6 separate regions of the Homo sapiens genome follow, and all the other regions are linked to region 3. Evidence: promoter capture Hi-C in 16 types of primary human blood cells and fetal thymus (Javierre and others, 2016). All regions are on one chromosome and are shown on one strand. Each heading gives the region's core, a stretch centred on a gene start or on the middle of the fragment in contact. The rest is flanking DNA. Distances are from core to core; before and after follow the strand shown.

Region 1 (4,967 bases), core at 2,251-4,750, 3.3 Mb after region 3:
GAAAAACCCGTTACACAGAGGGATGGGGGTGAAGTGGCGACGGTTGGGAACGCGCGGAGACAGGATTTAGAAGAGTGGGGGGAGGTGTTTTGTCGGCTGCTAGCGGAGCAGCCTCGGATCTCGCGGCGGGCGGCGACGGTTGGGTGGCGCGCGCAGCGCCGCTGGGGGCCGGCGGGCGGAGGCGCGCGGCCGTGGCGAGCGCGCGGCGGGGGGCGAACGGGCGGGGTCGCCCCTGCGGCGCGCCGCGGGCCGGAGACCCCGGCAGGGTGCGGGGACGCGCTCGCGGCGGGACGCGCCGCGGTGGGGGATGGGCGCGCCGCCTTGGTAATTCTATATTCTCCGTTCCTCCTCCGCTCGCGGGCGTGTGCGCGCCGCAGGCTGGCGGTAAGGCTGGAAAGGACTCCGGAAAGGCCAAGACAAAGGCGGTTTCCCGCTCGCAGAGAGCCGGCTTGCAGGTCAGTAGTTGTTCGTGCAGTCTGGGAGTCATGATGTTTTTCTTTGCATTTCCTTTTTTGTTATTCATCGCTCTCGATGGGCGTTTTGTGTATGCGTGGGTGATGCGGTGTCGCGACTTGGGCTGCCCATACGATAAATATGGGGGGGAGGAATCACGTGTTTCGATGTCGGGACGCGTTGCTGCGCCCGTGCCCCTTGCTTTGGCGCGCATATAATTTCCCCATCTCTAGTTCTCATTTTTGTGCATTTATGTTTGTGTATGCTTAAAATTTAAGTTCCCAGTGGGCCGTATTCATCGACACCTAAAATCTAGGACGACCAGTCATGGACGTGTGGGCGCGACTGCCGCTGTGTACAGCGCAGCCATCCTGGAGTACCTCACCGCAGAGGTAAATGGGTGAACGCCTATAATCCGGAGAAGGTTTGGGGGGCGGGGAGGCGGCAAGAGGGAAGGAGGAAAGTGATGCAAGAAAACTCCCAGGCCCTGAACGCGGCGAGAGGCCTAAGAGAACGCTAGAGGGAGCTGGTGTTCAACAAGGATCCTACTGAGCTTGAGTTCTCTGCTCTTGGAATTAAAATTGCGTGCCCCCTGTATATCTTGCCAGTCAGATAGTGAGGAACGATTCCAGTTGGTAGATCTGCGTTTGTGAGGGTTTTATTCTGTTCTCTGAATCTTGGCCAAAGGAAAGTTGGAAGGCAACTGACAGATTCTGCCTTTTAGGTACTTGAACTGGCAGGAAATGCATCAAAAGACTTAAAGGTAAAGCGTATTACCCCTCGTCACTTGCAACTTGCTATTCGTGGAGATGAAGAATTGGATTCTCTCATCAAGGCTACAATTGCTGGTGGTGGTATGTTAACTTCTAACATTTTAAAAAATTTCTTCAGAGGAAGGAATTTTTTGCTGCTTTTAATTAGTTTTTCCAGGAGAGGAAATTTAAGTATATTTTCAATGATGGAAGTATGGTTGTATCATGAAATTTGATTTATATGTATAACTCAATGAATTTTTACTTCATACTTGAGCTGCATGTTTTTAAAGATACCTTTCAAGTTGAACAGTATACACTTTCTTGGTTTCAAATACTGTGATTTTTTAAAAAATCTTAAGTAGAATTAATTCCTGTCACTCTCCTAGGTGTCATTCCACACATCCACAAATCTCTGATTGGGAAGAAAGGACAACAGAAGACTGTCTAAAGGATGCCTGGATTCCTTGTTATCTCAGGACTCTAAATACTCTAACAGCTGTCCAGTGTTGGTGATTCCAGTGGACTGTATCTCTGTGAAAAACACAATTTTGCCTTTTTGTAATTCTATTTGAGCAAGTTGGAAGTTTAATTAGCTTTCCAACCAACCAAATTTCTGCATTCGAGTCTTAACCATATTTAAGTGTTACTGTGGCTTCAAAGAAGCTATTGATTCTGAAGTAGTGGGTTTTGATTGAGTTGACTGTTTTTAAAAAACTGTTTGGATTTTAATTGTGATGCAGAAGTTATAGTAACAAACATTTGGTTTTGTACAGACATTATTTCCACTCTGGTGGATAAGTTCAATAAAGGTCATATCCCAAACTAGTTGTGTATTAAATTTGCTTGGTTGTAATAGGAACTTGTTTTGAGTATCTCATCTAGCAGCAATAACTAAGCACATTTCTTTGTGACTGAACTGTCAAATCTGTAGATCAACAAAGTGAGATAGCCCAAGTATATTTTTTTAATGTTATATGAGCTACTAAAGTTTTAATTTAAAAAGTTGGCAGGAGCTGGAGTGGGATTGTCAGTTTCTTAGGCTAAGTGTGACCATTTCAGTTTGTACATTGGCTTCGCTTGCTGTGTGACAGCACTGCACTAGTATGCTGTTAGCATGGTGGACTTGGGGAGGGAGAGAATAGGTAGGAATGTCCTGTATATCCACAGAATGAACTCCGAATTTAAACTTTAAAGATAATAGTGCTACGTGCCAGGCCCTGCTTTGAAGTCTGAAGTTGTTAAGTACTCAGTAACATCATTGGGGATATACTATCTCCATTTTATCGAAGAGAAGCAGGGTTTCTTATTTGAAAGTACCGAGTTATGGTAGTTAGCAGAATTAACAGCTTGGCTCACAGCATTATGTAAAAATTGTTACCTTGTGGTTGGGTTGAGCAGGTCATTTTGACAGTTTGTCATGTTTTTTTTTAAAAAATTTGCACATAGCAAACATTCCCCCCACCCCCACCGCGAAGACTAACAAGACACGGTACTTCCAAGTGGTAATGTTATCCAAATGGGACGGAAAAGGTGAAATCAAAAGTTTGCTTTCGTTAGGGCAGCCCCTGAGGGGCTGATTCCTGCCTTGTTTTGGCTACACAGGATTAAGGTCGATCTGCACCACTCGTTGCAAGCTACAAATTAAACTGCTTTGTACTTTGGATAGCCAGACATCCGGGTCAGAAAAAATGTAGCTGAAATAAGGCTGCCATACAAGCCCTAAGATTAGGTTCAAACGACGCTCTAACGTGTCCCGGAAGTGCTGAGACTGGACTGACACCTTGGTCCTCACCTGACCGCATCCTCCCTCGCTTGAGGGGCCCAGAGGCGGAACCTCCAAGTCCTGGCAATTTTACTGAAAACGAGTGTCCCCTTCCCGGACCCTGTCCTCCTGGCCTGAGCTGCGAGGGCCTCGCCTGGAGGTCACAGGGCACGGCGCTACCAATGCCGGCAATCGGGTCCCGGGCGGAACCCCTCCCCGCGATGGGCAGCCCGGCTGCTATCGTCCGCCTCCCGGGCAGGTCCGCTTCGAGCCTGCTGGCGCCGTGCGCGGACCACCGAGTCAGCTCGGACGCCCCGGCCCAGGAGGTTGGTCCTGGGCCGGGACGGATGCGGATCGCGCCCTAGGGGCCCGCGGGGGGCGGGGAGGCCGCCGTGAGGAGGCGGAGCTGCGAGGCCCGCCCGTCCGCCCGGGCCGTCGCAGCCGCTGCCGCGGTCCCCTGCGCTCCTCCCCGCTGCCGCCGCACGCCCCCAGCCGGTCCCGCCTCGCCTCCTCCGCGGCGGCGGCTTCCGCCCTTCTTAGCTGCGCTGCCGGAGGAAACGGAAGAAGGAGCAAGCTATGGAGGGGAACAGGGATGAGGCTGAGAAATGTGTCGAGATCGCCCGGGAGGCCCTGAACGCCGGCAACCGCGAGAAGGCCCAGCGCTTCCTGCAGAAGGCCGAGAAGCTCTACCCACTGCCCTCGGCCCGCGGTGAGACCTCAGCGTCCCTTCTCTTCCTGCCCAATCCCCAGACCACCGCGTAGCCCGCCCCTGCCCCCACCTCGGCCCCTCCTGGAGGCCTGCGGGGCCCCCGGCCTGTCTGAGCCAGCCCCAGCCCCAGGCCCGGTGGGGAGCATCCCGACACACCCCCGCCCTGGCCCCAGCCCCGGCTCCGGGCTGGGGCTCGGGGAATGCTGCGCGAGGTTCCTCTGCACCCGCCTGCCCGCCGGCTCCGCGTTCCGCTGTCCTAAATGTCCGGGTTTCATTCTCCCTGGAGGAGACTTGTCTGGTCCCGTCTTACCACAGTGAGGCTTTATTTGTATCTGTGTTGTTTATGTGGCCCCCTCCCTCCCCATTCTCAGTCCTACATAAGGCCTAGGCCCCTATCGAAGTGAGAGGAATGGTGTACTCTAGTGGCTAATCTCAGATTCCATGTTTCTGAGATCTGTAGAAAACTGTTCCCAAAGCAAACATCGAATACCTGAGATGACATTGCTTTTCCCTGGGAGAGAGTTCCTTTAAAAGAGAAGAGCACACTTTCGGCAAGAATGGTCAAGAGTCAGTAATGATTGCTGAAGAGTATCTGATTTGATAACACCATGATTATCGACGAACCAAATCTCTGAGGAATATGGTACTGGGTTTCCTTTAGTTGAAGTCAGCTTATTTATTTTCCTACTCGATAGGCTTCGGAGTAATAATAGCCAACATTTATTGAGCACAAAGTGCCAATAGTTGTGCCCAACATTTTGCATGGATTATTTCATTTATTCCTCAGAACAATTCTGTGTAGAGGTGCAGGATTCATTTGACCAGGTTTACCCACGTGGAAACAGACTTTCTGATAATTAATGAATGAATTAGCGAATGAATGAAAGTATCTTACCCAAGGTCACACAACAATTAGTAGCAAAGTCAGAATAGTAGCTGAACTTTCAGACTCGAAAAGGCCTTTAACCGCTACACTGTTGCCTTGCCATTAGTATTTCCAGGTTAAGAAGAAAGTTATCGATAGATTCAATTAATTGTAGAAAATTATTAATGAAAATATGGGGCCACTTGTTTTGTTGTCTCTTAAATTTTTTTCTCTACGTCGTTGAAGCCCTGTGCTCTTTGCTTTTCTCTCTATCCTTTCCATTACATTGCCTTCTAACACTATACCCATGAGGACAGGAAAATAAAATGAAAGAAAAGAGTTAATAATTTTTTAAGTTGTGGTTTAAAAACCTGCCAAATTTACGGTCTTAACTATTTTTAAGTGTGCAGTCCATTAGTGAAG
Region 2 (4,811 bases), core at 1,790-4,289, 3.2 Mb after region 3:
TATTGTTTTATTACCACACCTCTTTCTTTCCCAGAGTATCTCTTCTATATCCAGCAAATTTTCAACGGCTTCCTTGCAAGGTATTTGTTCCCTATTTTGAAGCTTTCCCAGTTAAGTGAAACCTAACTTCTCAGTAATATATGCAGTTTCAATACAGGGCATCTGGAAGCTCATCAGCAAGATGTGCTTCTGCCAGAGATGAATGAAGAGGGGGGAGAATGGAACCAAGAGGCTGGAGAGTATGATTGGGGGAAAAATTATAAAGGGGCCAGGGGAAGATATAATGGTTGACCATAGATAGAGGCTTTTGGAAAGAGTGAAGATAGCTGTGAACTTGAGAAGAAATTTAGGAAAAGAAAAGAGATGTGTAAAAAGCAGATTTTCTGAAATTTGCCATATGATTTGCTATTTGAACTCACTCTTCTTCACTTTCTAACCTTAATGTGAGTTTGATTTTCAGGTTGTAGTCTTTTCTAATGCTTACCTGTCAAGGTGAAATAAATAGTGGACCCTCTGTATCCGTGGATTCCACATCCATGGATTCAACCAACAGTGGATCAAAAATATTTGGAAAACAAATTGTGTTTGTACTGAATGTCTTTCCTGTCATTATTTCCTAAACAATACAGTGTATCAACTATTTATATTGTATTAGGTATTATAAGTAATCTAGAGATTAAAGTACACAGGAGTATGTGCATAGGTTATATGCAAATACCACAACATTTAATATCAGCGACTTGAGCATCTGATGATTTTGGTATCCACCGGGGTTCGTAGAACCAATCTCCAGAGATAACCAGAGACAACTGTACTTAACTATAAAGGTAAAAAATTTTCAGTCATCTACTATCTGAAATCATCTCTACTTAAAAGTTGTACATGGAAATATGTGGAGAAAGAGGAGGGCTTAGGACCAAGCCCTGGGAAAGTGCCATCTTGAAGTCAGGTAGTGAAGAGAAAATAAATGAAAGAAAGCAATAAAAGGAGAAGAGAAGCAACCATATGGTATCCTGGAAGTCAAGAAATGGCAGTATCTGGTGGAAAGTGTGGTCATGCTGCTGAGAGGTAAAAAGAAGGAAGAAAACTGACCCTTGGGTTTGGCAACATGGCAATTAACAGTGACAAGAACCATTTGGGAGGCCTGATGGGAATGAAAGTCAAATATAAGTGGTTGAAGAGAGATTTGGAGGTGAAAAAGTGACAACCACCTGCAAAGAAAAATCCCATGAAAAGGTTTCTGTGAAAGGGAGCAAAGACAATGTGGCAGCTGGAAGGAGGCCTATGGGAAGCAGAGGAACTCTTTCTTAGCTGTAGTGGGGGAAAAGCAGAAGATGGGTGCAGATGCAGGGAGAATTGTATAACACTGGTAGGAAGAGCAGATTCTCATGGAATGAGGTCATCACTGAAATTGAGGGCAGGGAGTGGGTTAGATCACTGATTCTTAAAACATAGCTGTGCATTGAAGTCATCCAGCAGGTTTTAAATACTGTTTATGCTCAAATCTCACTCCCAAGAGACTCTGATTTAATTGGTATGGGGTGAATCCTACCATTCACGAGTTTCAAAAGCTCCCCACTTTCCACCTCCCCTCCATTCTCGGCCCCAGGATTCTGATATGCACCAAATTTTGAGAAATGCCAGTTAATAATTTTTGAGGATACAGAAGATACTAGGCACCAACTAGTTGCATAGATCCAGACTGCTACGTAGGAAAAATAAAATAAAAGTCATTTCTTGCTTTCAAGGCACTGTAAATCTGTAGGCTATTCAAAAATCTAAAATCATTCCAGAAAATATGAAAGTAATTTAGGAGCATTAGCAATTTAAAGTATATTAAAGAAAGCAGGGTACAAACCATATTCAATGATGCAGAATCAAGGGGAATAAGAGATCAATTTTGGAGATGGTGGCTCAGGGAATGTTCACTAAAGGAGAGTATTGAGCCATATTTTGAAGAAGTAAAGTGCAAAAATTGACAGCTATCTGAAGCACATTTCAGATAGAGGAAGCAACAAAAGCTTTGTAAACAAAAGCAGGTGATCAGGGAAACTATGGAGAAAACACATTGCTGAGCAACTGAAGGATAGGAGTGGGAGAGAGAATTTTCACTCTATACCACTTTTTTTAGCCTTTTAAATGTTGAAACATTGACAAGTTTAGCCTTTTCAAGAATCAATCAATTAATAAATAATGGCTTTTTAAATGGGAAAAGAATCATCTAGATTGAGACCATTAAAAAATGAAAAAATGAGAGTAAAGAGATACAGATGAGCCCATTATAAAAGTATTGAAAGTACTAGCAGTGCCCACAGGAATATAATCTATTTTCTCTACCATTCACCTGAAAAGACAGAATAACATTTTATCTAAATAAGACCTAACATCACCGTAGTGAAATGATCCTTAGCAGGCACAAAGTAAAAAACCAATGTGGGCCAGGCACAGTGGCTAACACCTGTAATCCCGACACTTTGGGATGCTGAGGCAGGTGGATTACTTGAGGTCAGGAGTTCGAGACCAGCCTGACCAACATGGTAAGAGCCCCATCTCTACTAAAAATACAATATTAGCCGAGCATGATGGTGCATGCCTGTATTCCCAGCTCCTTGGGAGGCTGAGGCAGGAGAATAGCTTGAACCTGAGAGGTAGAGGTTGCAGTGAGCCGAGATCGCGCCACTGCACTCCAGCCTGGACAAGAAGATCGAAACTCTGTCTCAAAACAAACAAACAAACAACAACAACAATGAAAAACAATGTGGAACTCTATCCTTGTGTGTCTAATTCTCCCACTGACAGAAATACTACAGCCAGACCAAATGTGTTTCTTGTTGCTGTTTATTAGGAGAAATTTTTGCTTTTGTTTTCAAAGTACTTTGTAGCCCTTAAGCCATTAATTACTTTAAAGAGATATTCATATTCTTTCATTTGGCCTCTTTTTCTAAAGAAAGGATAAGGAAAAAAGGTTATGTTTTCTTCAGTTCTCTCTTCATGACTCACAATTATGTTGTAAGAACAACTTTTCATTAACGCAGGATGTTTACGTGCCTTAAACAATTTCCAGAAAAGCTGAGTTCAAGTGCATAACAACACTGAATATTGGCTGCAAATTGAATTATAAATTACTCAGAACCATCTAAGTCACAGTTAATGTTGCCTGTGGCTTCTGAGTATAGTTCTCAATTTATCTGTAAGTTTTTGAAGAGGCGAAATTGTATTAGGTGCTGAAATTAAAACAAACAAACTTGATATATTAAAGATAGGGTATAAAACAGTAAAACTGGGGTGATTTTCTGCATTATAAAATTATTTCTTTACTCTGGTATCTTTTTAATGGAAATTTTCAGTGTAGTTAACTACACCTGAAGAGACAGAATAATAGTTTTTCTAAGTAAGACCTAATATCACTGTAGTAAAATGATCCTTAGCAGGAACAAAGTCAAAAACCAAAGTGGAACTCTATCCTTGTTGAGCAGATCTGATTCTCCTACCGATGGAAATATGTAAAGGCAGACCAAATGTGTTTCTTATTGCTGTTTATTAGGATAAATTTTGTAAATTATTTTTAATTCTTTTTAAAAATCAGTGTAAATAATTTTTCACTTTTGTAAAATGAAAATAGTCATGAAATATTGCCAGCATTCATTCTTCATGCTAATAATATTTTATCTTGGTATGATGCATTACAGTTAAAAAAGCACATGACTTAGCTCATGCAGTCTTCACAATAGTCCCATTCTGCCCAAGAGAAGTGGAATGCTCACATAGGTTGATTAGACCAACGTCTCTTAGCTGGGAAGCATAAATGTCAAATCCAGTTTGTTCTGAATTCAATTTTCCTCTTTTTTTCCACTGCTGCATCTTTGCCTCTTACCGTTTGTGTTTCATGTTCAAGTTCTCTGCATGTTATTTTAGTATAGCCCAACAAAACAAAATTTACAGTCAGAATATTTATATATGTAGATAAACTTAGCTGTTAAAGACAGCTCAGCACAACTTCAAACAATAAAGTATCGTTTATGTGGTGAAACCAGAGTGGCTAAGAAGCGAAGCTTGGTTTGTTTAAACAGGATATTGGGGTTGGTTTTTTTTTTTTTTAATTTAAGGGTAAAAACTATGATATGAAAAGGTCCCAAACAACGGCAAACTGATGACCACAAAGCAAAGTTTACCATTTTTTTCTTCCTACACAGAGACAGCATCTGCAGCAATTTCATTACCAATTTTTTCTTTTTGAACTCTACTGAAAATTTCAAATAAGTACTTAATTTCAATAATTATAAATATTTTGCCATATTGTTTATGCCTCCTGCATTAAAAAAATTTTTGGAGCATTTTAAAGCAAATTTCAGAAATCATTTTATATTAACCTTAAATATTTTAATGTGCTTTCTTTAAAAATAATAAAACAAAGGACATTTTCTTACATAAACAAATGCCATTGTTTTCTCTAACAGCATTAACAATAATTCCTTCATATTACCTAGTTCTAAATCTGTATTCAAATTTCCCCAATTATGTAAAACCTTAAAAAAACAACCACTACCACTAATTAGAGGTTTAATGACATCAGCTTCCAACCAAGGTTCACACATTTTACTGGGTTGTTCTATCTCACAATTCTTTTTAAATATCTCTTAATTTAGAACAGTTTTCTCCTCTTTTTTCTCCTTCCCTGAATTCTATTGCCTTATTGAAAAAAAACAGGTCAATTTTACACATTGTGGATATGGCTAATGCTTCTTTGCATTGTCTGCTTGGTGGCTTTTTATTTTCAGTGCCAAGAAATTAGTCCTGAAGACTTGAACAGA
Region 3 (4,805 bases), core at 234-2,733:
TATCCAGACATATTCTGTGTACATAACCGTGCACCTTGAATTTCTCTTAATAAATGAAACATCTTGGATAGCTTTCTAAAGTACACATAAAAAGCTAGGCCAGGCACGATGGCTCATGCTTGTAATCCCAGCACTTTGGGAGGCCAAGGCAAGGAGGATTGCTTGAGCCTAGGAGTTCAAGACCTGCCTAGGCAACACTGTGAGACCCCACTCCCTACCCTAATCCCCCCACCACCCCGTCTCTACAAAAAAATTTAAAAATTATCTGGGCTTGTGATGTGCCTGTAATCCAAGCTACTCAGGAGGTTAAGGTGGGAACCCCACTTGGGCTGAGGCCAGGAGTTGAGCCTGCAGTGAGCTGTGTTCAGCCTACTGCACTCTAGCCTAGGTGACAAAGCAAGAACTCATGTTTATTTAAAAAAAAAAAAAAAAAAAAAAGAGAGAGAGAGAAGAAAGGGAAAATAAGCATTATTTTTGGGAAAAAATCACTGTATTTAGAATAGCTTTCCCTCTTAGTTAATAAAAGTAACAAACCAGGCCAGGAGCGGTGGCTCACGCCTTTAATCCCAGCACTTTTGGAGACCGAGGCAAGTGGATCACCTGAGGTCAGGACTTTGAGACCAGCCTTGCCAACATGGCGAAGCCCCGTCTCTACTAAAAATACAAAAATTACCTGGGCGTGGTGGCGGGCACCTTGTAATCCCAGCTACTGGGGAGGCTGAGGCAGGAGAATCACTTGAATGCAGGAGGTGGAGGCTGCAATGAGCAGAGATAAGCACCACTGCACTCCAGCCTGGGGTGACAGAGCGAGACTCCGTTTCCAAAAAAAAGAAGAAAAAAAAAGTATCAACCCATTACTCAATGAGTTTTTCAGTCCTCGGTATTTATTTTCCCTAATTCAACCTCTGAGGAAGCCACAGCTAATGGAAACGAGTTACAGAGAGAGAGAAACAGGAGAAAAGCCTAAACTCAGATTTTCTAAGGCGCACAACAGGCTTGTCACGTTTCTGGACTGGACAGCGAATTTCAACTCTTGCTGTTGAAAGTTTATTTTAAACTGTTGGTGCAGTTTCTTTAAAAGACGGCAATTCTGTTTGGGTAGTGAAAAATACATGTATCTCTACCTAGTTTCGTCTACAGGTTCCAAACTTTTTAAGGATGGGGTGGAGGATGACGTTCGCTAGCTTTTGGCAGATAATAGTATTCTGGTATTCCAGGACCACCACTCTCTGCCCACTCCTGGGAGCCCCTCCCTTCGGCCCTCTCCTCCGACTCTCTGCTGGGCCCTTTAAATCCCCTCTCCTGTTTAGCAGTGGTCACGCCGCCCGCCTTGCGTCCCCCGCGCTGCTCCGCACGTGGAATGGCCCATGACGTCACGAGGCCACGGCTCAATCAGATGCGGCGTTTGGGAAATTTTAAATTTAAAGGCGGGGCGGCCTGTGAGCCCTGAAGTGCCGGCCGCGGAGGGTCCTGGCCATTTTCCTGGGACCAGTTCAGCCTGATAGGATGGCGGAGGAAGGAGCCGTGGCCGTCTGCGTGCGAGTGCGGCCGCTGAACAGCAGGTAGGGGGGCCACACCACGGCCCGGTGCCCGCTGGGCCTGCGGCGCCGCCCTGAGCCGGAGGGGCGAGGCCTACGATGTTTCCAGGAGCCGCTGCTTCCCGGCTCTGCTGTCTAGTGACTCGGCTGCTGGCCATCGTTTCAGGGTCTGTAAAGTGACAGGGGAGGATCGGAGATCTAGAAGATACTTTCCAGCTGCGAGATTCACTTAAATTTAACTCAGTCTCGCTGACATACAGACCTTCCCTTCTGTGCTGCTCTGCCTTGCGGCATCTGCTCCTCCCTGCCCCATTCCCCGCCTAGAGAAGTCGTATGGGACCGTGCCTTCCTGGCCCTCATCACAGTTAGTCATTTTACACCTAACTGCTGTCTCCAGACCCTCTGAAGACAAGGGCTAGTCTGTCTTGTCACATTACATTCAATCGTCACTCAAGATCATTCTACAAATATTTATCAATTTTTTTTTAGTGACTTTGTACAACACAGACACTCCCGTCATTGCCCAGTGGCTCTTCCATTCTAATGGGACGAGACAGAAAGTAAAGTTGAAAATGTAGGATGTTAAGTGGTGATATGTAGGTAATAAGTGCTAGGGAGAAAAAGCAGGAAGAGGAATAAATGAAATCGGTTTGCTTCACTAGCTTCTGGCCCTCGACCCGAAATGCTAACACTTTGTGTGTGTGAGAAATTTTTATTGAACACGGGGTTTAATAAATGCAAATACCAAGATCAGGAATTTCCTATTTTTGAGGAGCTCATTATCTAATGCCTTAAACGGCTACATAAAGAAACCATTAGGATACCTTTTGACAAGTGTTATGATGGGCAGGTAGAGAATGTTTGCTAGAGGAGTTATTAGCCCATCAGAGACGAAAGCTTCCCGTGGGGTGAACTGGTGTCAGAAAAGTCTTGACGCTTTTCATGAGTGAAATAATCCCTATGTTACTTAATGGAAAGGGAAGTCAGAGTATTCCAGGCACAGAGAGGTTACATCTGTCATTTGGGGAAGACCTTCAGGTAGAGCTTAGGATGTATCTAGGAATTCAGAGGAAAATGGAAGAGAGAAATGACATGATCTAGGACTCGTGCCCTGCTGAGGATTTCATAAGTTTCCAAAAGGTTTTAAGAATTTTAAGCAAGACAGACATAATCAGAGTTGCATTTTGAATCCATCCCTTTGTTTACCAGTACTGGGGGAGAGGGTGAGAATGAAAGCCTTCACAAGAAAACACTTTTGAGGCGGCAGAAGGTCACTGAAGCTCCATTTAAGAGTTGAATCCTCAAAGATGGACTTTCTGTCATTCTCTTATGTTACTATCTTTCAAAATATTCTTTAGCAGGTGAAATCTTTTCAATTATTCCTCCTATGACATGACTTTTATGACTGGTTAAAATGCGGTGTTTTTATTCTTTTAGAGAAGAATCACTTGGAGAAACTGCCCAAGTTTACTGGAAAACTGACAATAATGTCATTTATCAAGTTGATGGAAGTAAATCCTTCAATTTTGGTAAGCTTATAATAGCATCAAAAGTTACCTTGTTATCCTTTTGCTATTAAAAGTACAAAAGGCTTATCAATAATATTAGATTTGTCACTAAAGATTAGACTAAGCCTTCTATAAACTGCTTCACTGGAAACAAAATTGTTTATCCATCATGTATTTAAGTAAGGTAACCAATTGGCATTTAAAACAGTTATAATCACAGTTATCTAATTTGCATCTAGGTAGATTCCAGACCCCCATGTGCAAACACTATACCTTATTGCCTCTTGAAAGAACATAGAAAAGTTGACTTGTAGTGTATTTTTTGTGTGTGAAAATGAACTCATTTTACCTTAGGGAAGGGTATTTTCAGAGAACCAAAAAGTTGAAAAAAATACTGTGTCTTAAATAGTTGATCATCCTACATTCTGACAGTTTTACTTTTGGGAATAATTACTAATTTGGAATGAAAACACAGTGGACTCATTTGATTTAACTTCTGTGTTGTTGTTGTTGTTGTTGTTGTTTAGATCGTGTCTTTCATGGTAATGAAACTACCAAAAATGTGTATGAAGAAATAGCAGCACCAATCATCGATTCTGCCATACAAGGCTACAATGGTTTGTATTCACTCAATGCTGCAGAAACATTTTAGTCTTGGGCGTCTGTGCAACAAGCATGCATAGTTTTACCCATTATAGGTTTGTTTTTAATCTTTGCGTATGTGTGTTTTGTTTTTTGCAGGTACTATATTTGCCTATGGACAGACTGCTTCAGGAAAAACATATACCATGATGGGTTCAGAAGATCATTTGGGAGTTATACCCAGGGCAATTCATGACATTTTCCAAAAAATTAAGAAGGTAAGTAACTTAACTGGATTTCTAGTACGTACAGGTAAAACTAGTAAAAACTGGGTACCAGTCTTAGTGTATTTCTCTTGTAAAGATGAAAGGAAGTAGATTTACAGTTATTGTTTGATTATCCATGGGGAAAGAAGAAAGGCATAGCATAGATTCACTTTTATCTCCACAACTTACTTTATAAAGCTTAAAGTTCTTTTATTCTTTCTCTTGAATTCTGCAACAATAATACTCTCAACAAAAAGTAGGCATTAAGGAACAAGAAAATGTTATCAGAATGGTTAGCTCCACCTAACCATTTAACTATCAGTGATTATAAAGGAACAGTAGAAAGTGGATGTAGGTAAAAAAAGAAGGGAAGCAGAAAGCCAGAATAGGCAACCGAGTTAGTTGGTTTCAAATTAGCATTTTTATTAAAATAAGAACATCTTTTGAGAGGGTTTTATTTTGAGCCTAGAGTTTGAGCCTAGAGTTGGTGTTCTCCCAGCTTTATGGTACTTCACTTTTCATTATTTCTGTAACGATGCTTTTATATTTTTGTGTTCATTATTTTGTCAACAGTAGAACCAAGGGGTTTCTTAGTTTGTTTTACATACATTTTACCTCTTTAAGCACATGAGCATTTAGCATTAGGTTTTCACAATTGGATGCTTCCTGGTGTTTTTATATAATTTTTTTTCTTCTAGTTTCCTGATAGGGAATTTCTCTTACGTGTATCTTACATGGAAATATACAATGAAACCATTACAGATTTACTCTGTGGCACTCAAAAAATGAAACCTTTAATTATTCGAGAAGATGTCAATGTGAGTAGCAGACTTAAGGGAGCTTTAAAATTGACTGACTTATTGAGATTATTGTTCTTGAATGTTTACCTTTAATTTCTATAGTTTTTAAAG
Region 4 (4,636 bases), core at 223-2,722, 3.3 Mb after region 3:
TATGAATATTTTTTGCCAGCCTCACGTCCTCTGGAAAATTTTCGTCACAACCGCTTTCCTCATTTATGTCAATAAGTTTGCCTTCACTGAGTTCTCTGTGTATCTAGAGCGATAGTGTCAGCATTCCCTTGGTCATCTGTTTCTTCTATAATTCTTTACTTTCTATTTGAAATTCAGCATTTCTATTTGAAATTTCAGCATTATTACTTTTCATTTCTTTGCTGTATTTCGTCTTTGTTGGCCAGTTTCCTCTTTTTATTATCTCTTTTTCTAAATGTCACATACTTTATCATTGGGAGACAAGGAGGTACAAAACTACATGCTTTGCTATCTCTGCATGAGCTGCATAACAGATGCACAGTGACCAACCATCAACATACTTTGAAAGAAATGATGTGGCTGGTTACTGATGACAGTGTGCATCTGTTAATTACATAATTATTTATGTAGTGATTTGTGGACTAAAGAGTTAGAAAAGTTTATACTTTACGTAGTTATTGAGGTATTATGCCATGCTAACTAAAATTTGACCTGTGCTCTTCTGCAGGGAGTGGTATTACTTAACCATAGTAACTAAAATGTGCATATTGGAACTATGCAAAATGAGGGCTTTCTGTGTTTTTCTGTAGTTACCTTAGCGTAATGAAAGGGCGCTCAAATTGGGACGGAGAGATACCCCACTACGCTGGTGATATGATGAAATAGTTAATAGTACATAGTTAATTCACTTAGAAGTCTTAGTGATTTACAGTCCTCTTTTGAGTGTTAGCATCTCTTATTGAAGAAACAGCAAAATTGCATTCAATGTTCTTAAGTTATAAACCGACCAGAAAGATACTCATTAGTCACCTGGAGATCTAATAAAGCAATAATTGATTCTAATTACATCATCTGTGATTATAAGCAATAAAAATGTTTCAGACAATGGGGATCTCATTTTAACTATTAAGTGTGCTCTCAAAATCATAATAGCGTGTGACACTGGATATGATGAAGCTGTCTGTGTAAAGGAATTAGAGAATAATACCAAAAGTATTTATTATATTACTGAGTAGTTCTAATGTTGATCAAAAATAGTTGGAAAGTAAATGCTTGCTTCTTCTTTGAATTTAGATGTCTCTTATCTTTTAACAAAAGGGGAAATATCAGGTTGTTGTGCTTATCCAAGAAATAAATTCAGTTAAAGGATATTTGTTAAAAGCTTTATGAAAATCTTTCATAATGGCAGGAAAGGTATTAGTACTGTCAGTTTTTTTTTTAATAATGAAAAAAAGCCAGTTCAACTCATTATATCATTTATTGAAAATAGGCTTATTGCATCCCAGAACAGTAATAATGAAGAAATAATAATGTTTTGAACATTTATGAAGAATAGTAGAATATACGCTTTGATTTGTTGCTAGATGTATGGGTTTGGATGCAGGCATCCTGCTTCAGAGCCATGGATTCATGCTTTTAACTGTTGTACCTCAGTGCCTCTCAGTAACAAAGTCAGCCAGCTACGGATACTAATGGAATGTGTGTTTTTGTGCGTTTTTTGAATTCTCTGCAAAATATCGTTCTTGTATTTGCAATTTAAAATCTGGTTGTGACCCAAAGCAGTCTCAGGCTTTAATAATCCCACTTTGTATGTTTTAAAACAACCAAATATTTCATAATTATGTGTATAAAACTAAATCCGATGTCTTTGATTAGTAATGCAACATTTGTTTTTAGAAAAAAATGGTTGTTTTAGTAAGCTTAAGGTTTAGATTTCTTCAGAATATTTCACAAAATTTAATTCATTTCTTCTAAAAGTGTAGTATCTCTTAATGAGCCAGTTATTTTTAATTATTAGTAAATTCTATTTATATTACTCTTTGCGCATTGTATGTAGAATTGAAAACAGCTTTTATATTTGTGACCTGATTTCTAAAATTATATACTTAAGAGTGTAAGTAATTTTTCTACTTTCTTGATTCATTTCTCTGTGAAGTCCATCAAAAAGAAAGTCCTTTTATTTTCTTTGGAGCATTAGTTGTATTTAAAGTAATTTCCATGGAAATTTAAAAAAAGAAGCTACCTGTGGTGGCACTAATTTTTCTAAACATTTTTGTGGTCCTCTTTTTACCTGCTTTTTAATTTATTTTGGGGGTAAGTAGTACATTCACAGAGTTCAGATTCAAGACTTAACTGAAGAACATAGAGTGAGAAGCTGCCCATCCTTCCTCTCCAGCCACATGCACAGTTTCCCCTCAAAGAGGCACCCACCATTACCTACAGAGATATTTTATGTACCTATGAGCAGACATGTATATACACGTATTTATACACACAACATACACATATGCCTGCATATTTTGGTACATAATTTATTGCTTCTTCTATACACTGTTCTAAACTGTGTATTTTTTCACTTAAGAATGTAACTTTGAGAGTAATCTTTCCTGGTACATAGAGAACTTCCTCTTTCTCATGGCTGCAGAGTATTCCAGAGTATTCCTTTGTAGGTGTATATCATAACTTACCTTGTCCTTCTTGATGGACAGTTGGATTTGTAATGCTTTACTGTTTCAAATGATGTTGCTTTTGGTAACTGCACAAAATAATTGGCTTATGTACAAATATCTGTAGTATATGTTTTATATAACCTAGTTTTTAACTTAGAAGAATATATTTATTTTATGTATTAATCTTTTTGTTGTTGTTGTTGAGACAGACTCTCGTTCTGTCACCCAGGCTGGGAGTGCAGTGGCGCAATCTTGGCTCACTGCAACCCAGGTTCAATCGATTCTTATGCCTCAGTCTCCCAAGTAGCTGGGATTACAGACAAGCACCACCACACCCAGCTAATTTTTGTGTTTTTGGCTGAGACGGGGTTTCATCATGTTGGCCAGGCTGGTCTCAAACTCCTGACCTCAGGTGATCTGCCCACCTTGGCCTCCCAAATTGCTGGGATTACAGGCGTCAGCCACTGTGCCCGGCCTATGTTATGTATTAATCTTAGAGATATATTTTAATCTATAAATAAGTTTAGGATTGAATGATTAGGAAATCATGCCAATAATAGGATAAAAATAGTATAAAAGTCATTTATAAAGTTATTTTATTCTTATTTTTAATGTAAGGAAGACAAATGATTTTGTTTGTAACATTTTCCATTCATATTTAATAACACTTTTCTGACTTAAAAGTTTTTGACAATGGGATTTTAAAAAATTTAATGTCAGTATTTAAACATTAGGTTAATATAAGTATTTCTTATTCCTTAGTTAATACATTAAAGTTAACACAAAGAATAGATCATTCCGGGTTGCTGTAGGGACATTGAACATATCTCTGAGTTGTAGTTTATAGATACCATAAGATAGTTACAGGACTATAAGATTTATGTTAACAATGAAAGGGTTTTGCATAAATGTTGAAAGTCGAGGAGTGTCACCTTATATTTTTTAACACAGTATATTTGTGCTCTACCATATGTTTCTTAATTGCTAATTTCCCAGGGATTCTCACTGATAACTTAGTACTTTAGTGATAAATTATGTCATTGTCAGTGTGCACAATTGACACCACTGGTATTAGTTAATAAGTGATATTTTTGAATTATGTGCCAGCCTACACTTTACATGCCTTGTATTATTAAATTTCACAGTATCTAAGTAAGTACAGTTATTCCCATTTTCAAATTGTTAATCTGAGGCTTGTAAAGGTTTCATAACTAGCCCAAGATAGCATAAATAATAAGTGGCAGAGCCTGGACTGGAACCCAGATCTTTCTAACTTTAGAGCTATAGCTTGACCGTTCTGCTTACTACTTCTTACGTAAGCATGGCTGAAAGGATTACTGCATAGCCTGCATTCCTTTTGCCCTGTTTCTTCAGCCAGGAACAGTTTTTCCACGTCTTTTCACTTAGTGCCATAACGTCTCAGCTGATGTATTACTGCCTCCAGGAAAGCCTTCTCTGGCCCACTGTCTGTCTGCATCAGCCTCCTCTTTTCTAGGTTCTCATATCCCTATGAACTTTTTAACAACACTTGCCACCAGTTTTAGTTTTACGTTTGTTATTGTGAGATTATTTTATTGGTAACACATTCACTTTTTACATTGGAAGCCATGTGAAGGCAATGATTGTGCTTATTTCTGTTTTTCATAGTATCAAAGTATTAAGTGCCACAAATACTGGCCGCTTAATATTTGCATGAATGAAAAAGGAAAAAGGCTGTTTTTTGTCACTATAGCCCCTGCTGATAATCTTTCATGCTTTTGTGTACCATGGACTGATCATTCATTAGTAGTTTTAATGGAGAGTTATCTATGTCTTAGATTCTTATTAATAAACTGCATGAACTTGTAAATATTATAAACATTTCTATAATACACATTGATTCAATTTCTGGGAGAATTTTGGGGTCTGTGGTTTTTCAGAAAATACATGAGAATTATTATGTCTTTGAGGTGCATAGTTTGAGAAAATGAAATATTTTATATTTTAACTTTTTAAAATTTTATATTTTAACTTTTTTTATATTTTAACTATTTTCTTTTTCTAGTGTTGAAGGGCTCCATGCCATTGTTGTGTCAGATAGAGATGGAGTACCTGTTATTAAAGGTAAAACTGAACATTTAAATGCAAATGTCTTCTTTGCTTTTGAC
Region 5 (4,902 bases), core at 571-3,070, 3.4 Mb after region 3:
GTGGCATGATCTCACCTCACTGCAATGTCTGCCTCCTCAGCTCAAGCCATCCTCCCACCTCAGCCTCCTGAATAGCTGGGACTACAAGCATGCACCACTACACCAGGCTTATTTTTGTATTTTTTGGTAGAGACACGATTTTGCCATTCTTTCCAGGCTGGTCTTGAATTCCTGGGTTGAAGCAATCCTCCCGCCTCAGGCTCCCAAAGTGTTAGGTTTATAGGCATGAGCCACAACGCACAGCCTGTTTCTTTATTGTTATTGACTATACCAGGGATTAAAGTGCTCCCAAGCACCCCCTCACCTTTGTATGTCACTGGTAAAAAAGATTCTTATATTAGAAGGAAAGTTATTCTAAGTCACTTTTAAGTTCCCTTTTAACTTTGAAATAATGTGACTTTTTAGAAACAAATACCCAGGGTTGCTGAAGCTATCCTGCACACATACATAATATATATTAGGCTTTCTTGCTGAAGCTGGGGATGATTTATATTTAACCAAACACCTCTTAGCACAGCAAATCAACATGCCTTCAGATAGAGCAGTGTTAATACATTATTCCAATAATGTTAAGAGAGCACATGTGTGGTTTAAGAAGAGTGCTGTGTTTTGCATGTCTCCTAATTTCCTAGAACTTCACTCTGGCTTTCTTAACAGGTAATGCAAACAGATTAAGTGATATTATGCTCCCTTCCGCAAAGGCTTTACTTCAGCACTTACTTTACCATTTTTAGATGCAGTGTCTTAAAAATATGCAAACATGTGCACTTGTGGGTGAGTGTGGCAGATGCTGTTTGTGCTGGTGAAGCAAGGCACCATCTGCATGGAAAGGTCATGCTTAATTGTGTCAGCACTGATTTCTGAGTAATGAAAGCCTGGACAAAAATGAAACTTCAAACACACCAGCATTTTTGCATTTAAGTCTGCAAAAGTAGCTGCTAACTCAACCAAATGAAATTAAACAAGGTTACGCACTTTTGGATCCTGTGGGCCCTATCCAAATACTTTTTGTCTTCTTGTCCACACTTCATCTGAAAAGATTGCTGTGTTAACTAACGGGAGCTAATGGCAAATAACAAAGATAATTTGACCAACTGGCCAGCTGAGATATCTCCCAGATTCTTAGCTTCCACGAAGCACCAGGGTAGATTCAGCTTTTGAAAATGGGTAAAATTTGAAATCGTTCATGATAATGTGTGTGAATGGAGCAGCTCAGCCAAAATGTCAGAACGTTTGGTCTACCTTGGGGTAGGACTTCAGAAATGAATAAGAGGAGTCTTAGAGCTTTTCATGGAGAGCATCTTAGAGGGAACCTACTTCAGTTCCCCTATTTAACAGGTTGGGCAAGTGGGGTTGGAAACTATTAAGATACTTGCCTGAGATTTCACCCCTAGTTACAGGGATTCTGGCACTTCTGACTGAGCCCAATTCTTTCCTTGCTGAGTCCAGTAATAATACAGCTAACTTTGGTGCTTTCTTTTAAATCACAAAATGTTTTCCAGGCCAGCATTAAATTAATAGAAAGCTTGAACCTCAGATGTATGTTATTTGTCCATTTGAAGCCTGCGTAAAACAAACTCCGCGGGAGTAAAAACTGTGGCTTACAGGTCCTCATATGACTTACTTTGAAACCCCATCAAAATAAATATTTCTTAAAATAGCCCTGGAAGCAATGAGAATGGACATTATAGAAAATATAGCCTTACTCTAGCGCTCCCCTCGCCACCCCCAACCCCCGGGTGTATTTAATTTGTGGATTCGCCCTACTGGCTGTGCTTACTACACCTCTTCCCCTCCACTTCCACAGGCAGGACCTCTGTGATGAGGATATGCTATCACTAGGTGGCAGTAATACCGCGTTGGTGGGCGCGGGGGAGCTGTTTTACCTGAAGTCAAGATTAGATCCATCGCTTTTTCCTTCCTCTCTATGAAAGTATAGTTCTTTATTAAAGTAGCTGAATTCAGGTGATACTACCCAACACCACATTTGTAGAAGATTCCTTAAACGCCAGACTACTAAACCATTAAATGATTCAGGTATAATTTATTACCTGTCTCACCAAGTTTTAAATGGTTCAATTCTTAGTTCTGCTCTCTTTTCCCTTTAAAGCTTTGAGACCTTTACTGAAAGAATTTAAATGAGTAGGAAGTGATTGAAATCTAAAAATTCAATTTTATACCTAAAAATGATTTTCATTTCTGCAATTGCAATATATTTTAAGCACTTACTTTTTCCTCAGCTCATTTGGTAAATATAAATCTTCAAAGCATTTCAATTTTCATTTAAAATAAGGAATGTAGGTGACTCTAAAACTGCTAACGTAGAGCCCTGTCACAGTAACGGTGACTGGAAATAGTGAAAATTCTTCAGGGTTCTCAGCGTTACAGTGAAGGCAGCTTGGGAACAGCTCCCCGATTACAGAGACAGTGACTCAGCCACAGCAACAACTTTGAAGTAGATTTTGTCACTGTTCCTGGGTGGCCCATGGGTCTGAGTTTTCTCTGTTAATCATATAAATATGAGATCTTTGGTATTTTAAATATTTTAAGGGTGGTAAAGAGAAGTTTCTCTTAACATGTAAATGTTTTTGTTCTGTCTATCTAAAGGAGACATTATAGAGATGATTTTTTTTGAGATGGGGGTCTCACTGTGTTGTCCAGGTTGGTGTTGAACTCCTGGCCTTAAGTGATCCTCCTGCCTCAGTCTCTCAAAGTGCTGGGATTACAGGCATCCGTCATTGTGCCCAGACACAAAGTGAATTTTATCCAGAAGGTTAGGTGGGGGATGGAAGCAGGAGGAAGAGCAAAATTATGAGGAACTATGAGTGGTTAAAAAAAAAATGTGAAGAGAGCAGGAGAACTATAAAAGAGAGTACTGACAGGATGGTGTGATAGGTGACTGAACCAGTAATCCACCCGAAGCAAAAAGGATAAACCTGGCCCTGAAGGGGGCCACATCAGAGCAAAAATAAAGGCTTCAGAAGACCCTGGAGGGTGGGGAGCATGGAGGTGACACACTGGAAGCTGAAAGCTAAGGGCTGCAGCAGGGCTTCTCCCAGGACAGGCTGTGCACCACCAGCCTCAAAATCCCCAAGGCACAGGGCCCTGGGGCCTGCATCTTGGACAGTTGCCCCAGGTGATTCTGATGTTCGGCAAAGGTTGAAGAGCACCCGAGTCTGTGGAAGAGCCTGCAGACCAAAAGTAATGTGGTGACGGGTCTGTGGGCTCCTGGGGCAATAACGAGTGCCATAAGCCTGTGCCAAGAAAAGATGGTACCTTGTGACCTAATAAGCTATCCACGTTTGTGTCAGTCAACACCCATCACAAAAGAAGCCTGTCATTCCTTGGACCATCTGTGTGTGCTCACGAGCAATGGGCTGTGTAAGGAGAAAAAGAAGGACTTCCAAAACCAAGAAAGGTTTTCGGGCTTGGAGGTATCAACTAAGTAACCTCAAACTCTTTTGTCTCAGTAACTCTTGGCTGCAGCTCAGCTGAGACTCAGCTATGCTGGCATCAGGAGTTGGCGGCTCCCTGTGGAGATCCTCCAAGTGCTCTCAGCAAACAAGGCCTTCTTAGGGTAATAGGTTGCTCGATGACACTGATGATCCAGATGACCAGAGGTCCCATGGTGGGGGACTTAACTTGATCCAGGCTTAGGATACAAACCAGTCTGACAGACAAGGGCAAATAGGAAAGGGATGGAGCTGGACTTCTGGGAGTAAAAAAGGGAGTCCCTGGGAGGAAGAATCCTTATAGGTGAGGATTCACGGCTTCAGGGCCAAGGGCAGGCAGGTCTTGGTGGTTGTTCTTGGCCTTAACTCAACCTAATCTTGCCTACTCTCTAGCAAGATTTTGTGTCCTGGAAGGAAAGGGCATGATGATGCTCAGTAGTGTTATTGCTTCCTAAGTGATCCAAGTCACCTCAGCCTGTTGGGTTGAGGGAATCCAAGTCCCCTAACCCTTTCCTTTAATTAATGAAAAGAATATCCCCTCCAGGCTTCCCTATCTCACATGCTGTGGCCAATCCAGTGATCTGACAATCCAGTGAGATTTCCATGAATTCTGGGGGCTTACAATATCATAGTTTCTGTTCCTCTTACTTCCTGCTTCCATTGACATCTAAGCCACTGAGCCAGTCAGCCAGCGTGCCTTGTGAGGTTGTTCTCTTCTCTCTGTACCACCTGACCAAACAGTAGACATGGTGCCTCTAAGTGCAGCTGTCTTGTCAAACGGTCAAGGATAGCAGACTTGACTAAAGTTTTGCTTAGAGAAATGGAGGAAAGTTTGCATTATAACACAGCTTACATAAAAACTTAACATTAAATAGCAGACATAGCCAAGCATGGTGGCTTATGCCTGCAATCCTAGCAGTTTGGGAGCCCAACGTGGGAGGATTGCTTGAAGCAAGGAATTCAAGACCAGCCTGAGCAAAATAGCAAAGACAGCCTGCCTCTAGAAAAAGCTTTAAAAAATTAGCCAGGTATGGTGGCACATGCCTATAGTTCCTGCTGCTCAGTGGCTGAGGCAGTAGGATCATGTTAGCCAAGGAGTTTGAGGCTGCAGTGAGCTACGGTTGCACCATTGCACTCCAGCCTGAATGACAGAGTGAGATCCTGTCTCTAAAAGAATCTAAAAAGAAATAAATCAATGGCAGACTCTGAGCTGAATCTCTTCAATTCCGCCACAGAGCACTCACTACTTGGTGACCAGCTTTGCCTTCTGGCCACTACTTCCCACCATCTGCACTTTTTCTTCTCTCAAATTTCTCACTCCCTGGCCTCCTGTCCAGCATAAAGATGGTCATTTGAAGAGAAATGCTGTCACCTGAAAGGGAGGTGAGCATTGGAGACCATTAAGCAGATGGCAAAGAACTCTAGGTGACATCAGTTTACCATGCAACTG
Region 6 (4,314 bases), core at 798-3,297, 3.6 Mb after region 3:
GATCTCCTGACCTCGTGATCCGCCCGCCTAGGCCTCCCAAAGTGCTGGGATTACAGGCGTGAGCCACCACGCCCGGCCTCAAAACCTATTTTTCTTCCAGTATTCCCTAAATGACCCGGTTAATGTTACTGCATTCCTACAGTTGTCCAAGTTAGAGAAGCCCTTAGGGTTATTATCTCCTCCTTCTTCCTCATTCTATCCACAGCTTTTCAGTCATGTGCAAAACTATGACACGCTTAGGTCTTTGCTTTCACTGTTCCCAATATCTTAAACTTCTTCACTTTTCTGACACCTGTACAACTCCTACTTACTTTCCAAGATGAAACAAAATTATTTAATCTCCAAAACTATGTCCTCTGCCTCAAGGAGCATTTAGTTGCTTCTTTCAAAGTACAAGCATCTCAAGTACATGTTGTATGGTATTTATTTACTGCTGGCTCCCCTATTAGATTAAGGATTCCTTAAGCACAGAGAGCATGATTTCGTCATTTCTGTATCACCAATACTAAGACAAAACGCATAGAACTCGATACATGTGTCAAATAAATAAATACATAAATTTTACAAATCAATGAAAATATTGTTTCACATGATTTCACCGTCTTAAACTTTCTATATGTTTCAATTTTTTGTTAAATTGACTTTTGCTGGTGCTCTTTTGGTGCTTACTTTGGATTAATAATAGAATCATTTTAAATTTTGCACCAAATGACTACAAAGTTAAATGTCTATGTCAAAAGAAAATTTATTGACTTCATTATTAGAATATGAAGTGGTTTTTTTTGCTTTAAAACTTTGTTTAAAATATCTAAGGAGGCCAGGTATTAACTCTGAAAAAACTGTATAATTATTTATAAAACAGATCCCATAGGAGCAACTGAACAGCTGTGGAAAGATTTGGCACATCACTTTGCCAGCCTGAATTTAATGACCTACATGTGAAGGGCTACATATCCAATTACTAATCCTCCCTCAGCTACTCTTTGCCCTCATATGGAGGCAGCTGAAAAAAGATGCCCTACTAACAGATCAGAAGTGGATCCAGACTTTTTTGCCAGTGCTCAGTTAACAAAGATCTTTTAGGTTTGAGATGAGGAAGAAACAGAAGAGGGACTCACAACAGTGTTATAGCTGATACAGTGTTTCAAGTAAAATTTAAGGGCTTATGGCAAGAGTGACTTTAGTTTTGTAACTAAAGTCAAAGAAATTTCGGCTCTTTTAGAGAATCTCAAATTCTGGATTTAATTTTCTATTCACTGAAGCCTTTAAACATGTTCAAATATCTTCAAGGATAATTTACTTCAAAATTCTTTCTATATGAGAAGCCAGTCTTCTATTCAAGATGCAAACCTCATTCTTACCTTCAAATTCTGCAATAATCACCTATTAGAAGTAGAGGAGAAAAAAACTAAATAGAAAATGACAATCTACGGGGTTGTATTTCATTTCTCTCTCAGTTGACATGATCTATATATAGCAAAAGATTATATAAGGTCAAGTATTATAAACAATGAAATGTCATCTGATGTTTTGCAAAACAGCATAGGAAAAATAGCTCAAGGAATGAATAAAGAGTAAAGCTATGGCTGTTTTACTTCAGCCATAAAAAAGCCTTACAGATTCTAAATTTAAATGCATTTTATTGTGAATCTGACTCACTTTTTGAATTTAATTTTCCACTTGAGTTATGTAAAATCATGTGATATGGTAATTTTCTGTATAAATTAAAAATAATATAGGCAAGAGATGTTTTTCTCTCATTTTCAACACAGAAAAATTAGGAGCCTTTCTTCGTTGTTTTGCATTTTTAACAGTGGGACTATCTTAATTCCTTCATCCAATACTCACAAGAATATATGAATGAATACACGTCTGCAGGTACACACTTAATTCTTGAACGGGAAAAAACAGACATCACTGTAACTACCTCCCACTCCCAAAACACTAACTCCAGACCCCGCCCCGCATAAACCCCTCCCCTTTCTTCCATTGCGGGTTCGAAATGGCCGCAGTTCGATGACGTAAGACGCAACCGCCGTAGCCTCCACTGCGTAACTACCGCCCCTGCCTCTGGGAATTGAAGTTTCTGTGGAAGGAAGCGTGAGCCGTAACCAGGCCAACCCAGAAAGGCTTTCTTTCTGAGATTTCACTTCCCTGTCAACTCTTCAGCTCGGTAAGTGTCCTGGCACTGGTTGGCGCTCCCCCGCACTATGGTATTCTCTGGACGCAAAGGGGCGCGTGCCATGCAGCCCCCTACTAGCAACAAGGGCTTCCGGGGGAGAGGGGAGCAGTGGTGTGGAAGTGGTTTCCTGCGGCGCTCTTGCTGAAGGAAATGACGTCGATGACAGGCGCCCCCCGCGGCCTACCCAGCTGCTCCCTGGTTCGCCAGAGACAGCTTAATCCCGTCTCTGAAATGCGTTTGCTGGCTGGGAGCCTAGAAGGGATAGTGGGCGAGGCTCCGCCCCGTGGTGGGGCGCTTTCCGTCGGCGTGTGTTTTGGGGTTGCCATCGGCCCGTAGTATGTGAAAAGTGAGTTTGCAAAGAATCAGTGGGAAATCTGTACTCTAAAGGGCCGGAAAGCGTGTTATGGCCCTGCCACTTCGTGGCTAGAGACCGTGGGCTTTACCTCTTTAAAGCTGCCTTACCTCATTTTTCCTGCAAAGGGCTGACGTCGCTGAACTCTCTGAAATGTAGAGAGCCCGAGGGGAAGTTGCTGCAGGTGCTGTGAGCTGAGGACAGTTTTATAAAGATCGAAGTGTTACTTGATTTCACTGAAATACTTTAAATTTGGGAATTTTTCTACAGATATGAAGAGGATGGCAACACATTACTTGTCACTTTCTGAAAGAATTTCATCTGCCCCTTCCATTCCCAACCCTCTGCCCAAAAGGCTTGACAACTGAAGTGAACAAAGGGCTTTTCGCTCCTCCACGTTTAGTCCGCATGTCTTTTAAAAGGGCATTCCTGGCCGGGCGCGGTGACTCACGTCTGTAATCCCCGCACTTCGGGAGGGCAAGGCGGGTGGATCACCTGAGGTCAGGAGTTCGGGACCAGCCTGACCAACATGGTGAAACCCCGTCTCTACTGAAAATACAAAATTAGCCGGGCGTGGTGGCGCATGCCAGTAATCCCAGCTACTGGGGGGGCTGAGGCAGGAGAACTACTTGAACCCAGAAGGCGGAGGTTGCAATCAGCCGAGATTGCGCCATTGCACTCCAGCCTGGGCAACAAGAGCGAAACTCCGTCTCAAACAAACAAGAAAGGCCGGGCGCAGTGGCTCATGCCTGTAATCCCAGCACTTTGGGAAGCCGAGGCGGGTGGATCACGAGGTCAAGAGATGGAGACCATCCAGGCCAACGTGGTGAAACCCCGTCTCTACTAAAAATAACAAAAATTAGCTGGGCGTGGTAGCGCGCACCTGTAGTCCCAGCTACTCGGGAGGCTGAGGCAGGAGAATCGCTTGAACCCGGGAGGCAGAGGTTGCAGTGAGCCGAGATTGCGCCACTGCACTCCAGCCTGGGCGACCTAGCAAGACTCCCTCTCAAAAAAAAAAAAAAAAAAAAAAAAAAAAGGCATTCCTTTGCTATCGCTGTCAAGTCATTAATTCCAATCTGCATTATTCCCACATTCGTTGAGATTTTTCTGAAAAGGAGACTGTCATAAATTAACGACGATTATTTATTTTATCCCAATCCATAACTTAATGCAGTTTTAAAAAACTTTTTTTTTTCTTTTGGTGCTCATTGATGTAGGATGTGTCCTTGCCTTACAAAGTGAGATAGTTTGTAAGCCCACTTAATAACCTATGTCTGCGAATGAACCCCACAAATTTTTAAAATTTTATGCAGGAGTAAAATTTCACACACACACACACACACACACACATATATATATATATAATTTTTTTTTTTTTTTGGAGACGGAGTCTTACTCTGTTGCCCTAGTTGGAGTGCAGTGCTGCGATCATGGCACACTGCAACCTCTGCCTCCCGGGTTCAAGCGATTCTTCTGCCTCAGCCTCCCGAGTAGCTGGAATTACAGGCGTCCACTACCACGCCTGGCTAATTTTTGTATTTTTAGTAGAGACGAGGTATCGCCATGTTGGTCTTGAACTCCTGACCTCAGGTGATCCGCCCACCTCAGCCTCCCAAAGTGTTGGGATTACAGGCATGAGCCACTGCGCCCGACCTCACACAAATATTTTTATAGTTACTGTAAAATACGTTCTTGAACATTTGTTGAACTTGGTTGAATGAATGAAAATGTACTGTGAGCATCACTGCATGTGAGAAAGGAATGAAAAACTCTGCCATGG

What was found. Contacts are between HindIII fragments. The CHiCAGO score rates a contact against its expected background, and 5 or more counts as called.
Region 1: the fragment with the promoter of DNAJB14 here is called in contact with the fragment with the promoter of CENPE in region 3 in 7 of 17 cell types (fetal thymus, total B cells, naive B cells and 4 more); the score reaches 14.5 in fetal thymus.
Region 2: a contact is called between a fragment that was not itself captured here and the fragment with the promoter of CENPE in region 3, in 1 of 17 cell types (total CD4 T cells). The highest score is 5.2, in total CD4 T cells.
Region 4: a contact is called between a fragment that was not itself captured here and the fragment with the promoter of CENPE in region 3, in 3 of 17 cell types (fetal thymus, naive B cells and total B cells). The highest score is 15.4, in fetal thymus.
Region 5: a fragment that was not itself captured here is called in contact with the fragment with the promoter of CENPE in region 3 in 1 of 17 cell types (total B cells); the score reaches 7.4 in total B cells.
Region 6: a contact is called between the fragment with the promoter of TRMT10A here and the fragment with the promoter of CENPE in region 3, in 7 of 17 cell types (fetal thymus, naive B cells, total B cells and 4 more). The highest score is 15.4, in fetal thymus.

Annotation. Positions count from the first base shown.
Region 1 is chr4:99,945,151-99,950,117 of GRCh38, reverse strand. It overlaps DNAJB14 (DnaJ heat shock protein family (Hsp40) member B14), which reads left to right and starts at 3,500. Exons shown (of 8, transcript NM_001031723.4): 1 at 3,500-3,679. The coding sequence starts at 3,547. It overlaps H2AZ1 (H2A.Z variant histone 1), which reads left to right. Exons shown (of 5, transcript NM_002106.4): 2 at 378-455; 3 at 732-845; 4 at 1,178-1,307; 5 at 1,595-2,030. The coding sequence ends at 1,656. RefSeq lists enhancers at 1-12, 1,053-1,102, 584-1,189, 4,067-4,116 and silencers at 213-262, 343-432, 3,237-3,896. The HindIII fragment of the contact is 11,087 bases long and covers 1-4,967 here.
Region 2 is chr4:99,965,115-99,969,925 of GRCh38, reverse strand. All of the region lies in intron 1 of H2AZ1-DT (H2AZ1 divergent transcript), which reads right to left. Among named protein-coding and RNA genes, the nearest start is that of H2AZ1-DT, 17 kb to the right of the region's middle. The HindIII fragment of the contact is 2,031 bases long and covers 2,024-4,054 here.
Region 3 is chr4:103,195,021-103,199,825 of GRCh38, reverse strand. It overlaps CENPE (centromere protein E), which reads left to right and starts at 1,483. Exons shown (of 49, transcript NM_001813.3): 1 at 1,483-1,562; 2 at 2,976-3,067; 3 at 3,574-3,663; 4 at 3,788-3,906; 5 at 4,593-4,712. The coding sequence starts at 1,507. RefSeq lists an enhancer at 1,067-1,621. The HindIII fragment of the contact is 3,749 bases long and covers 1-2,437 here.
Region 4 is chr4:99,887,252-99,891,887 of GRCh38, reverse strand. LAMTOR3 (late endosomal/lysosomal adaptor, MAPK and MTOR activator 3) reads left to right here. Exons shown (of 7, transcript NM_021970.4): 4 at 4,534-4,592. Among named protein-coding and RNA genes, the nearest start is that of LAMTOR3, 4.9 kb to the left of the region's middle. The HindIII fragment of the contact is 538 bases long and covers 1,204-1,741 here.
Region 5 is chr4:99,805,395-99,810,296 of GRCh38, reverse strand. No RefSeq gene overlaps it. Among named protein-coding and RNA genes, the nearest start is that of DAPP1, 9.0 kb to the left of the region's middle. The HindIII fragment of the contact is 585 bases long and covers 1,528-2,112 here.
Region 6 is chr4:99,561,772-99,566,085 of GRCh38, reverse strand. It overlaps TRMT10A (tRNA methyltransferase 10A), which reads left to right and starts at 2,047. Exons shown (of 8, transcript NM_001134665.3): 1 at 2,047-2,173. It also overlaps a transcript of MTTP not described here. RefSeq lists enhancers at 1,969-2,028, 2,379-2,508, 1,744-2,943. The HindIII fragment of the contact is 8,482 bases long and covers 1-4,314 here.